3 separate regions of the Homo sapiens genome follow, and all the other regions are linked to region 3. Evidence: promoter capture Hi-C in 16 types of primary human blood cells and fetal thymus (Javierre and others, 2016). All regions are on one chromosome and are shown on one strand. Each heading gives the region's core, a stretch centred on a gene start or on the middle of the fragment in contact. The rest is flanking DNA. Distances are from core to core; before and after follow the strand shown.

The links. Contacts are between HindIII fragments. The CHiCAGO score rates a contact against its expected background, and 5 or more counts as called.
Region 1: a fragment that was not itself captured here is called in contact with the fragment with the promoter of STYX in region 3 in 1 of 17 cell types (total CD8 T cells); the score reaches 5.8 in total CD8 T cells.
Region 2: a contact is called between a fragment that was not itself captured here and the fragment with the promoter of STYX in region 3, in 1 of 17 cell types (total B cells). The highest score is 9.8, in total B cells.

What each region holds. Positions count from the first base shown.
Region 1 is chr14:52,274,187-52,277,969 of GRCh38, reverse strand. PTGDR (prostaglandin D2 receptor) reads right to left here. Exons shown (of 2, transcript NM_000953.3): 2 at 1,246-3,239. The coding sequence ends at 3,006. Among named protein-coding and RNA genes, the nearest start is that of PTGDR, 8.4 kb to the right of the region's middle. The HindIII fragment of the contact is 2,652 bases long and covers 1,096-3,747 here.
Region 2 is chr14:52,291,245-52,294,978 of GRCh38, reverse strand. No RefSeq gene overlaps it. Among named protein-coding and RNA genes, the nearest start is that of PTGER2, 21 kb to the left of the region's middle. The HindIII fragment of the contact is 220 bases long and covers 2,351-2,570 here.
Region 3 is chr14:52,728,550-52,731,858 of GRCh38, reverse strand. It overlaps STYX (serine/threonine/tyrosine interacting protein), which reads right to left and starts at 1,693. Exons shown (of 11, transcript NM_145251.4): 1 at 1,328-1,693. The coding sequence starts at 1,384. It overlaps PSMC6 (proteasome 26S subunit, ATPase 6), which reads right to left. Exons shown (of 14, transcript NM_002806.5): 14 at 3,269-3,309. RefSeq lists silencers at 1,399-1,478, 1,549-2,008. The HindIII fragment of the contact is 7,384 bases long and covers 1-3,309 here.

The sequences.
Region 1 (3,783 bases), core at 1,172-3,671, 450 kb after region 3:
TGTGAGGGATTATCTGCAACTGAAAGGATCTGAGAATCAGAGGTCAGAGAAACATAGTCTATCACATATTTACTTGTCTTTTTTTGGTATTTTTCTTTTCTTTTCTTTTTTTGTTTTGTGTAGAGCAGTGGTTCTCAAATATTAGCATGCATGAGAATCACCTGGAGGGCATGTTAAAGCCCAGATTGCTGGCCCCACCCAAGAGATTCTGATTCAACAGGTCTGACGTGGAGCTGGAGAATTTGCATTTGTAGTAAGTTTCAGGTGTTGCTACTGCTGCTTGTCCAGGACTACTGATTATTCTCTGCAAGAGAATGCTAGAGTGGAATTACTGGAACAACAGCAAAGAACGCTTTAGGTTCTTGATACACTGTTGGGTTGCTATCAAGAAAGGGTATACACATTTACGAACTCGCCAGGGGAACATGAATGTTCTTCTCTGAATAACCTCTGTTATTGAGAGTCATAGGTTTTTTGTTGTTGTTGTTGCTTGTTGTTGATATACAATTTGGTTTTATTTTTGCATTTCCTTGATTAGGCTGAATATTTTTCTACATTTATTAACCATATGTATTTTCTCTTATGTAAACTTTCTCTGTGTTCTTTTCAGTTTTCAGAGTCAAAATTCCTACTCGTTTTCAATACTTGACTTTCAATGCATCTTCTTCCTGTGAAGTTCTCCTGACAACCCTACACGTGGTCCCTAGTTTGGGCCTCCTCTTCTAATAGTAAATGCGTACTCGCAATACTATGGAGAATTTCTATGCTGTATCCTAACTGTTGACATTCCTCTCTACCCCAGTGGACAACGAGCAACTCATGAACCATGATTGAGTCTTATTTTTATTCCTTTCCTCAGCCCCTAATCAACTGCTTGGCACAAGGTCTCTGTAAATTATTTAATGAATTAATGAATAAATCTATACAGATTACCGAAGAGTTGGTTTTAACTCAACACAGACTTCATCCAGATGGTATATCTACATTTTGTATGAAACAAAAAGGAGCACTAGGTCCTTAGGTGAGTCTAAGGACTTACCTAAGCTTGTTTAAAGTAATGTAAAGTAATGAAATGTAAGTAAAGTAATGAAAGCTTGTTTAAAGTAATGTAAGTGTTAATCGGACAGTATATAAAAATCCACACTAGGAAACTGCCAGACAATGAAATATTGCTGGCAACTGTCTACTAAAAAGAAAGCCAAGCCCTTTTCTTTCATTTAAAGAAAAGTAATTTCCTCTGCAAAATACTATAAAATTATATTTATTGATTCATCTGGGGCCTTTTCAAATTAACTGGACAATTATCCTAACACACCTCTCCAAAAAAAGAATACAAAAAACATGTTCTTCCTCTGACAATAAAACATGCATGTACTTACACATTGAAGGTACAAACAAAAGTTAAATTTCAAAAACAACTGTATTTTTTTCATCATGTCATACTGTTAAATCATACTCCTTGTATGCCTAATTTGGCTTTTTCACAGTTTTGCTATACCAAAAAATTACATAAAAAATTACCCAGCTTTATATTATCTCAGATACTGGAAAAAACATAAGTGAAACAAAGGAGGTTGCTGCTCAGTTGGAAATAAATAAACATGAGTACTCTTATATTTGGAAGGGACTTCTGGCTGGAGGTCTTGAGATCACGCAAATGCAGCAGGCTTTGCACCTTGGAGTCCTGAGATTGTCAGATACAAAGGAACTCCAGAGATGCTGAAACCCCTTGAACCTCCCCAGCTGTTCTTTTACCAAAGGTGAAAGCTCTTACCTGCAAGCTGGGTTTAGAGTCTCCGCTTCAGTTGCAGCTGCGTTTCCTCCACTTTTCCCTTTCAGTCATCATATTGCTGACCCTTGAAAACTTTTAAATTACTATTAAAGTGCTCAGTTGTGCTCCTTTTCGGCTATATGCTGCTCCAGTTTTGAAGGTGTAATTTGAAGTAAAATCTTGGAACCTAAGATCTTACCGTCTCCACGGACAGCAGAATACGGCTGTAATAGGTAGCTGTTAAGGTAGATGTTAAGGCCATTGTTACTATCGTCAACTGAGGCTAAGTCCTGGGTGGGCTTTTTGCTGTGCCAAATGCCCCCCTGTGCCACACAGTCAAACAGTAAACATGGCTCTACAGTGAGTCACACACTGGTTTTCAAAGAAGCATAAATCCTTCCACTAAAGAATCCATTGATAGGATAATTCTTTTATAAAATGGAGGTTCTAAAAACTGAAAGAACATTTTGCAACCCACCCCCAACTTTTGATTCCTACTGACACCCTTGACTCAATACAAAAGAAACTGGATTTCAAAAGATAAAAACGAATTTTTGCTTCTTTGGGTTGTGGGCTATAGTCATATCTTGCTCTGCATCTAGTTACAGCTTCAGGTCTCCACCTGAGGCAGCAAGTACTCCCCGATGGTGGCTGGGGAAGCCCCTCCAACTGCCTGACCTGGTCATATTTCCCACCTCACTTCTCTGAGGAACATCATAATTCAGGCTATGCTTAGATCAATTGGCAAAGAAATGAACTAAACATCGGCAATGATATAAAATCAATGAATCAGGTTTCACCAAAAAATGAATAGGGTAAGAAATTATGCTTTTTATGAATGTCCATCGTATAATCGTAAACAGTGGTGTTTCTACTGTATTTTAAAAGACCTGTATGTCTCAAGGCCTCTCTAAAAAAAAAAAATAGGGCCACCAAGCACAAATGTAGGGACAATTAATACCATTGTTTTTTAAGACTTTTAACACTGGTTACAATATATAAAATTTTAGTTGCTGTTAATAAAAAAATGAAAATGCACTGAAGGGGTTCATGACTATAGAATGGTAACACATTGTTAAGATATCAAATACTTTTGAAAATACATATACATGCTTTTGTTATGGGAGGTAACTTTTAAGGATTTAAATTGTAAGTTGTCTTTTTTTTTTTAATCATGGTTCTTTGACTGAAAATGTGACATATTCCTCAGCTTACCACAGAGTGAAAAACACTGTCACAGACTGGATTCCATGTTAGTGGAATTGCTGCACCGGCTCCTGTACCTAAGAGGTCTAATGAAAATCTTGTGAAAAAATATCCGAAATACTGGAGATCTGAAAATGATAAAAATCCAAGGGTCCACAATTGAAATCACAGATAGAAATCGCAAGGCTCGGAGGTCTTCTGCTTCTTCAGAGGTCCTGTTTTTCTCCTTGACATCCTTAAATGCTCCATAGTAAGCGCGATACTGTTTTGAAGAAAAACATTCCATTATGATGTGGAAAGGTTAATGGCAGCAATGGATTCACTTACTTCACCTAAGTTACTGTAAGAACATGACAGCTTAGCTTGGAACACCCATTTTTGGTACATTTACAAGTAGCTAAGGCCACAGCAGCTGATGGGTGCAAGTGGGGAGCTGGGAAGGTGGGGTGTGGCCAGACCTGGGAGGTGGGAAGGAAGCTGAGTACTTGTCGGAGACCCAGTCTGATTAAGTCCCTGAAGGCTATTCTACCTGCTGGGCTCAAGTTTCTAGGTCCCTGCCAGGCCATGAAGATCTGCTGAATCTTTTAGAAACAGGGTCAGCATGCTTTCATAAATACAGAATCTCTTTCTAGCTAGTGTCCTTGCACTTACTTTCTTCAGTTCTCCTTTCTTTCTTCTCCCTGCTTCCTATCTTCTCCTATTAGTTCTCTCAGAAATAAGTCACACCTGTGAAATGTCATATGTATGGAGACACCAATAGAATGGAAGCTTTTAATCAATGTGAAGAGATTGGAAATATGACAATG
Region 2 (3,734 bases), core at 1,211-3,710, 440 kb after region 3:
GACATATGCCAATGAAGGAAAGGTGGATTTTATTGTTTTTATTCTTTCAGGGTCTGCAAGTTCAGAAATTGAAGTTTATGTTCTGGCAAAGGTGGGGAGTCTAATAGGAAACCTTCCTCTATAAGGTTAGGACCCAAAAGGACTGCTTCCTTAGGTCAGGAATTATCTAGAAGTAAACCTAAACCCACTTTTACGCTCTAACCCTCCAACACTCCCCCAGGAGATCTTAAGGGAAAAAAAAATTCTTTTGTGTTGAACACTGCAGAGGAAGGAAAGTAAAGAAAAACCTGATCTCTGCGAAGTGACAAGCACGTGCTGGCAGTCTCTGTGAGTTTGTAACTCCAAATCACCTTACCTGGATGGTCCAAAAAACCCTGTGCCCCGAACTGGTTTAAAGAAGTCCTGGACTGACCCTAGGGGCCTGGAGAGTGCACATCCCCTCTGGAGGAAGGCACCATCATTTTAGGCATCAGAGAATCTCCAGAATACATGTTCTCATAATACCCAAGCTCACCAGAAGATAAGGTAACATCAGTCAGAATCAGCAGGAATAGACCTACAGTGACTTCAGGTATCCTTCATTATCTACATTTTCATTTTGAACTCCAGGAACCAAATAGATTTGGATGCATTAGGATTTCCACACTAGGCAAAATTTTGCCATGTAGTGTCACAAAGTCAAGAACCTAATAGATTCAGATAATGAAACTCTTGAAATTCAATAAGCAAAAGACAGATAACTGAATAGAAAAGTGGAGAAAAGACCTGGACAGATCCTTCACAGACAGGGATATGCAAAGGACAATAAACATAGGAAAAGGTGTGGATCAGGGATATGCACATTAAAGCCACAATGTGATACCACTCGATACCCCCAGAACGGCTAAACCGAACTAGAAAGACAATAGGAAGTATTGATGAGCATGTGGATCAACTCGGCCTTTATACATTGCTGTGGAAGTATGAACTGACACAATCCACTTTGGAAGACCCCTTGGCAGTATTTACTAAGGGCAAAACTTATGACCTAGCAATTACATTCAGTTATATCCTTAATAGAAATGCATATGTATGTTCCCAAAAGATGTGTGAAAGGATGCTTATTACTTTTTTTTTTTTTCTTTGAGACAGAGTTTCGCTCTTGTTGCCCAGGCTGGAGTTCAGTAGCGTGATCTTAGCTCACTGCAACCTCCGCTTCCCGAGTTCAAGCGATTCTCTTGCCTCAGCCTCCTGAGTAGCTGGGATTACAGGTGCCTGCCACCACACCTGGCTAACTTTATTTTTTTGTATTTTTAGTAGAGACGGGTTTTCACCATGTTGGCCAGGCTGTTCTCAAACTCCTGACCTCAGGTGATCCACCCACCTTGGCCTCCCAAAATGCTGGGATTACAGGCATGGGCCAGTGCGCCCGGCTGCTTATTACTATTTGTAATAGGTTCAATTAGAAATAACTCAAATGTCCATCTGCAATAGATAGATTAATATATTGTGGTAAATTCATACGGTGGAATTCGTACAGTAGAACACTACAGCAAAGAGAATAAACAAAATATAACTCTGAACAACACGGACGGATTTCACAAGCATACTGCTGAGTGAAAGAAAACAAGTACATACTGATTCCATTTATATAAAGTTCAAAAGTGGACAAAATTCATGTATTAGAACTCAAGGTGGTTTCCTCTTGTGGGTGAAGTCAGTAGCTAAAAAAGGGATTTTGGAGGGGTTTGGGATTCTGTGTTTTTTGTTTTTTTTTTTTTTAATCTGGATATTAGTAACTTAGGTGTATTGCTTTGTGAAAATTCATTTCACTGTCTACTTATAATTCGTATATTTCTCTGTATGCATGTTATACTTCAGTAAAATTTTGAAACTTTTATAAAGAGACATTGAAAAGGACATAAATAAATTGAAAAGTATACAAAATTAATCAATAGATTCAGTGCAATTCCAGTGAAAATCCCAGCAGGTTTTGGTGGAACTAAAGCACTAAGATTAAAAGGGCCCCCTTCAAAGAGAGCTAGGTGGAAGCATTAATGTACCTAAGACAACAGGCCAATGGAATAGAAACAAACATACAAATATGGAAACTTCATATGTGACAGATATGATATTTAAGATCAATGGGGAAAAGATAAACTTTTTGATAAATGATACTTGGACAAGTGGTTATTTATATGGTGAAAGTACAAAACTGGATATTTATATCACACCATACACCAAATAAATCATAGGTGGGTTCAAATTCAAGAGTGAAAGGCAAAACTATAAAGCTTTTATAAAGTAGTATAGAAAAATATTTCATGATTTTAGGTTTAGAAAACATTTCTCAAATAAAACATGAAAAGCTTAGCCATAAAAGAAAAGTTTAAGAAATTAGATTCTAATAAAATAAAAATTTCTATTAATTAAAAGTCATCAAAAAGAGAGTGAAAAGACAGATTAAAGAATGGGAAAAGATTTTTCCAACACATAAAACTGACAAAGTAACAGTAGTTAGGACATCTATAAATCAATATGAAAAACAAACATTATATTTTTTAAAAAGGCAAAAGACTTGAACAGAAGCTTTATAAACTAGAATTTCCAAACAGCCAATAAATGTATGAGAAGGTGTGCAATATCATCATTATTAATATGAAAAATACATTAAAACCTCAATGAAATACCATTACAAACTTACCAAAATGGCTAAAACTAAAAATCTAACAATACAAGTGTTAGCAAAGATGTAGAGCAATGAAAACAATGCTGGTGTTAGTGTAAATTGGAAAACAATTTTTATGATATAATAAAAGGTGCACATATCCTATAACCCTGCAATCCCACTCCTAGATGTATGCCTTAGAGATACTCGTACACATGTCCAACACAAGACATAATAAGAACAGTTAAAACAGCATTGTTTATTTTTCTTTTCTTTTTTTGCCCCTTGAATCATAAAACAGCATTATTTCTAGTAGGCAAATCTAGAAATACCCCAAATGTCCATTGACAGCATGCGATATATTCATACCATGGAATACTATTTGGCCATGAAAATATAGGAACTCAGCTACACGTACAAAAAGTATGAATCTCACAAACATACTATATGGTGAATATCATCCAGATCTCCTTTTCCAAGCCATTGCCCCCAGCCCCTGTGGGTTATGGTTTCTAATGGCTCAGAGCTGGCCCCTTTTCTGGAAAATTGCCCTTGGCTCAAAGGGTACCACCGGGAACACGTGGGCCAAAAACTTAGTAACAGGCTTTCACAAGTGTCTTGGTGGGACCAACAGTGTGGTGCTATTCAAGCTCCAGAGCCCCCCCTTGAGATCAGGCAGAGCTGAGACCTCATCCTTGCCTTGATTCCGTCCCTGCCCTGTCCTGCTGCTTTCACCGCTTTTCTCCCGAAAGCAGGAGCTCCACAGGTCACATGCACCTGACTCTTTGTCCTAGACTGCATGTGAGGAATCCAAGCTAAGACACATTACTAAGCTTGAGAAAAAGACACTGAATACATATATTATGATGCACACATGGGGTAAGATAAAGAAAAGCAAAAGCATGATTTCTTAAAAGTCGGAACAGGGTTTATCTCGGTGAGGGGGAGGGACTGTGATCAGGGAAGGCACACAGGAGGCTTCTGGTACTGGCAGTATTCCGTTTCTTGACCTGCACAATGTCTACATGGATATTTACTTTATAATTACTATTTAACTGCATATGCATGTTGTACACACAATTTAGTA
Region 3 (3,309 bases), core at 444-2,943:
ATCACACCACTGCACTACATTTTGCAACAGTGATAGTCACAAACAAAGTCTCTACTCTTAAAACAAATGTAATTGTCAAGCATCAATACCACAAGAGAGCCCTCCAAACAAAAATGTGAACCTAGGCCGGGCGCGGTGGCTCATACCTGCAATTTCAGCACTTTGGGAGGCCGAGTCGGGCGGATCACAAGGTCAGGAGATCGAGACCACCCTGGCCAAAATGGTGAAACCCGTCTCCCCTAAAAACACAAAAATTAGCTGGGCGTGGTGGTGCGCGCCTGTAGTTCCAGCTACTCAGGAGGCTGAGGCAGGAGAATCGCTTGAACCCGGAAGGCGGAGGTTGCAGTGAGCCGAGATCGCGCCACATTGCACTCCAGCCTGGCGACAGAGCAAGACTCCGTCTCAAAAAAAAAAAAAAAAAAAAAGTGAACCTCCAATGAAGATATTCAATAGAATAAATATTCGGAATAAATTGAATGGTCTCCTAAAAATAGGGCTTTATTTTTCCCAACTACTTTAAAGGTATTTTTAACTAGCGATGTTAGATTTTCTTTCTTAATCCTACTAAAGTATAGCTGAGTATCTTCGTCTTGTTAATTTAGCCTCCAGAAAATTCTAATTTAGTAGTCTGCAATGCCGTAAAATGTTAAACTAGCAACAGATGAAAAAAAATCCGAGTAGAAACAGCAGGCAGGGATCTAAGGTGGAGTAAAAATAGCCACAAATTAGAAACCAGGAGAAAAGGTATATAGTATTTTACTTTCAATATTAATTTTCCTCCAAAGGTCAAGATTTCTGATTAAGAGTTCTCAGATTAAGATGAGCTAGCTTTGAGACACTTTGTTGTGCGGGTCATAGCTTTGTCTAAAAACAAACAAAAAACTTTGGGAAACTTTTCGAAGGCGCGCTTCCAAACTTCAGGCGCCGAGTCTATTTCACATGTGGGGCCATGTGTCCCACAAGTGAATCGTTTACACCACAGATATTCCTCAAAAGGAGACTAAACCAACTTCGCTCTCTTGTTACTTTGACAATAAAAGAGGAACCTTACTCCAGGTCAGTCCTGGATGCCAAGCCTAGGGACTAAGGGATTGCTTTTCCTCTTCTCAAATGTAAGTACACCAGACGCTGCCCCTCCGCGGGGTCTGGAGAGGACGAGCAACTCAGTGGGGATTGGAGCCGACCGCTCGGCTTCAGAGGTCCCGGGACGCCCTTAGGAGGCAGGGCGCCCGTACAGGTGGCGGCTAAGACGGTTGGGGACTGGGGTCGCCCCTCGGCCGGAGCCACAGGGAGAGGCCTGTGCGTGGCAGCCACGGGAGCGACTCACCTCGGCGTCTTCCTTGCACTGTGGAAGGGAAGGGAACTCCAGCTTCACGTCCTCCATGGTGCTGGCCCGCGGGCTGGTGGGTGGGGTGGGAGAGTGTTACACAGCCGGCCGACCCTCGGGCTGGCTGCGGCGGCGGAAGGAAGGAGGGCCGGCGGAGCGGAGGGCTGACAGGAGGGCGGCGGGATTACAACTAACACACGCAGACTACAGGGTCCCAGTGACTCCAGCAGCGGCGGCGGCGAAGACAGGGAAGAGGAGGGTCGGGCGTCTTACACCCGGCCGCCATGCCGCTGCCGTCTCCCTCCCCCAGAGTCTCCGTACCCCTCAGGCCGCCCAGGATCCAGCACAGGAACCAGCCCGACAACCGTCTCCCCGCCTCCTTCCCGCCCCCTCCACCCGCGTCGCCTCAGCCAATCCCAGCCCACGCTCGCCTTCTGCCCGCCCTCCGCCGCCGCCAGGTGTCAGCGCGCCACCGCCCTGCTCCGCCCCTTCGCTAGAGCGCAGACGCTTGGGGGTGGGGGGGGCGGAGCCTCGGATGCTGCTAGGCCACAGCTCACCCGGCGTGGAGGAGGCGGGGCTGCGGTGGGACAGGACGAGTGAAGGTCCTGGGAAAGGCAGTGGGGCGGTCCGAGCCAGCTCCGCCCTTTCCAGACAGGACGTAGAGCCCTTCTTTAACATAAGAACAAACAGGCAAAACAGGCTACCCACCAGTGGCATCCGAAAGGAAAGCTATAGTTTCTCCCCTCTCAAAATTCTGCGCAATCTATGCTGAGTTTATAACCAAATGACTAATAAATGAAGAGTTCAATTTAAAATCACGTGGTGCCATACAGAAAATAAAATACCCATCACCTTTAAGCAAAGAATTAAACGGCTCAATTTAAAATTTTTTAAAGTATTTTAAGAGTACTTGAAAATACAACTCAGTTTAGATTACCTAGAAAATATCAAGAATGGCAACTAGAAAAAAATCAGAAAAAGGAACTGATAGCTGACTCAGTAAATTGTATATAATACTGTAAAATTTCTTCCATTATTATATTTTGAAATAAAAATAATAAACCAGATGGCTTTCAATATCTTTTAAAAGGAGTTTGCCAGCCTGAGCAAAATAGTAAGACCCCCCTCTCTAAAAAACAATTTTAAAATTCCCTGGGTGTGGTGGCGTTATGCCTGTAAACCCATGGTGAAAAGATTTGGGCCGGGCGCGGAGGCTCACGCCTGTAATCCCAGCACTTTGGGCGGCTGAGGCGTGTGGATCACCTGAGGTCGGGAGTTTGAGACCAGCCTGACCAACATGGAGAAACCCCGTCTCTACTAAAAATACAAAAATTAGCTGGGTGTGGTGGCGCATGCCAGTAATCGCAGCTACTTAGAAGGCTGAGGCAGGAGAACCGCTTAAATCCGGGAGGCGGAGGTTGCAATGAGCTGAGATAGTGCAATGGCACTACAGCCTGGGCAACAAGAGCGAAACTCCATCTCAAAAAAAATCAAAAATAAAAAAAGAAAGAAAGGATTTGTACACCAAATTGATTCTTTAAAAAACCACCGCCAGCACAAAGGTAAAAGGCAAGATAGTCACTCCTTAACTAAATGCAAATTATAAGTGAAAAGATCACATAGATATTTGACTTAAACCTCCCCCTACATTCTACTTTTTGTCACATAAAATGCACTGCCAACACATAGAAATAGAACTGTACAATAATTTGAGTATGAGATGGCTAACTTGACCACTCCATTTTCTATTTTAACTGTTCATCTTCTAAAATTATAAAAAGGCACATAATATCCTGCTAGGAAGTTTTTAATTTGAAGAATTATTGTATAATTAGCTAGGTCATGTATTTTTGGTTCTTTAGTGTTTATGAAACTGAAGTTGTCTTTTCTTTTCACCAGCATCTTTAATAATTATTGATGCCCAATGATGATTCCTTTGTGTACTTTGTTATAGCTTTTATTGCCAGATGATATAAGAATCA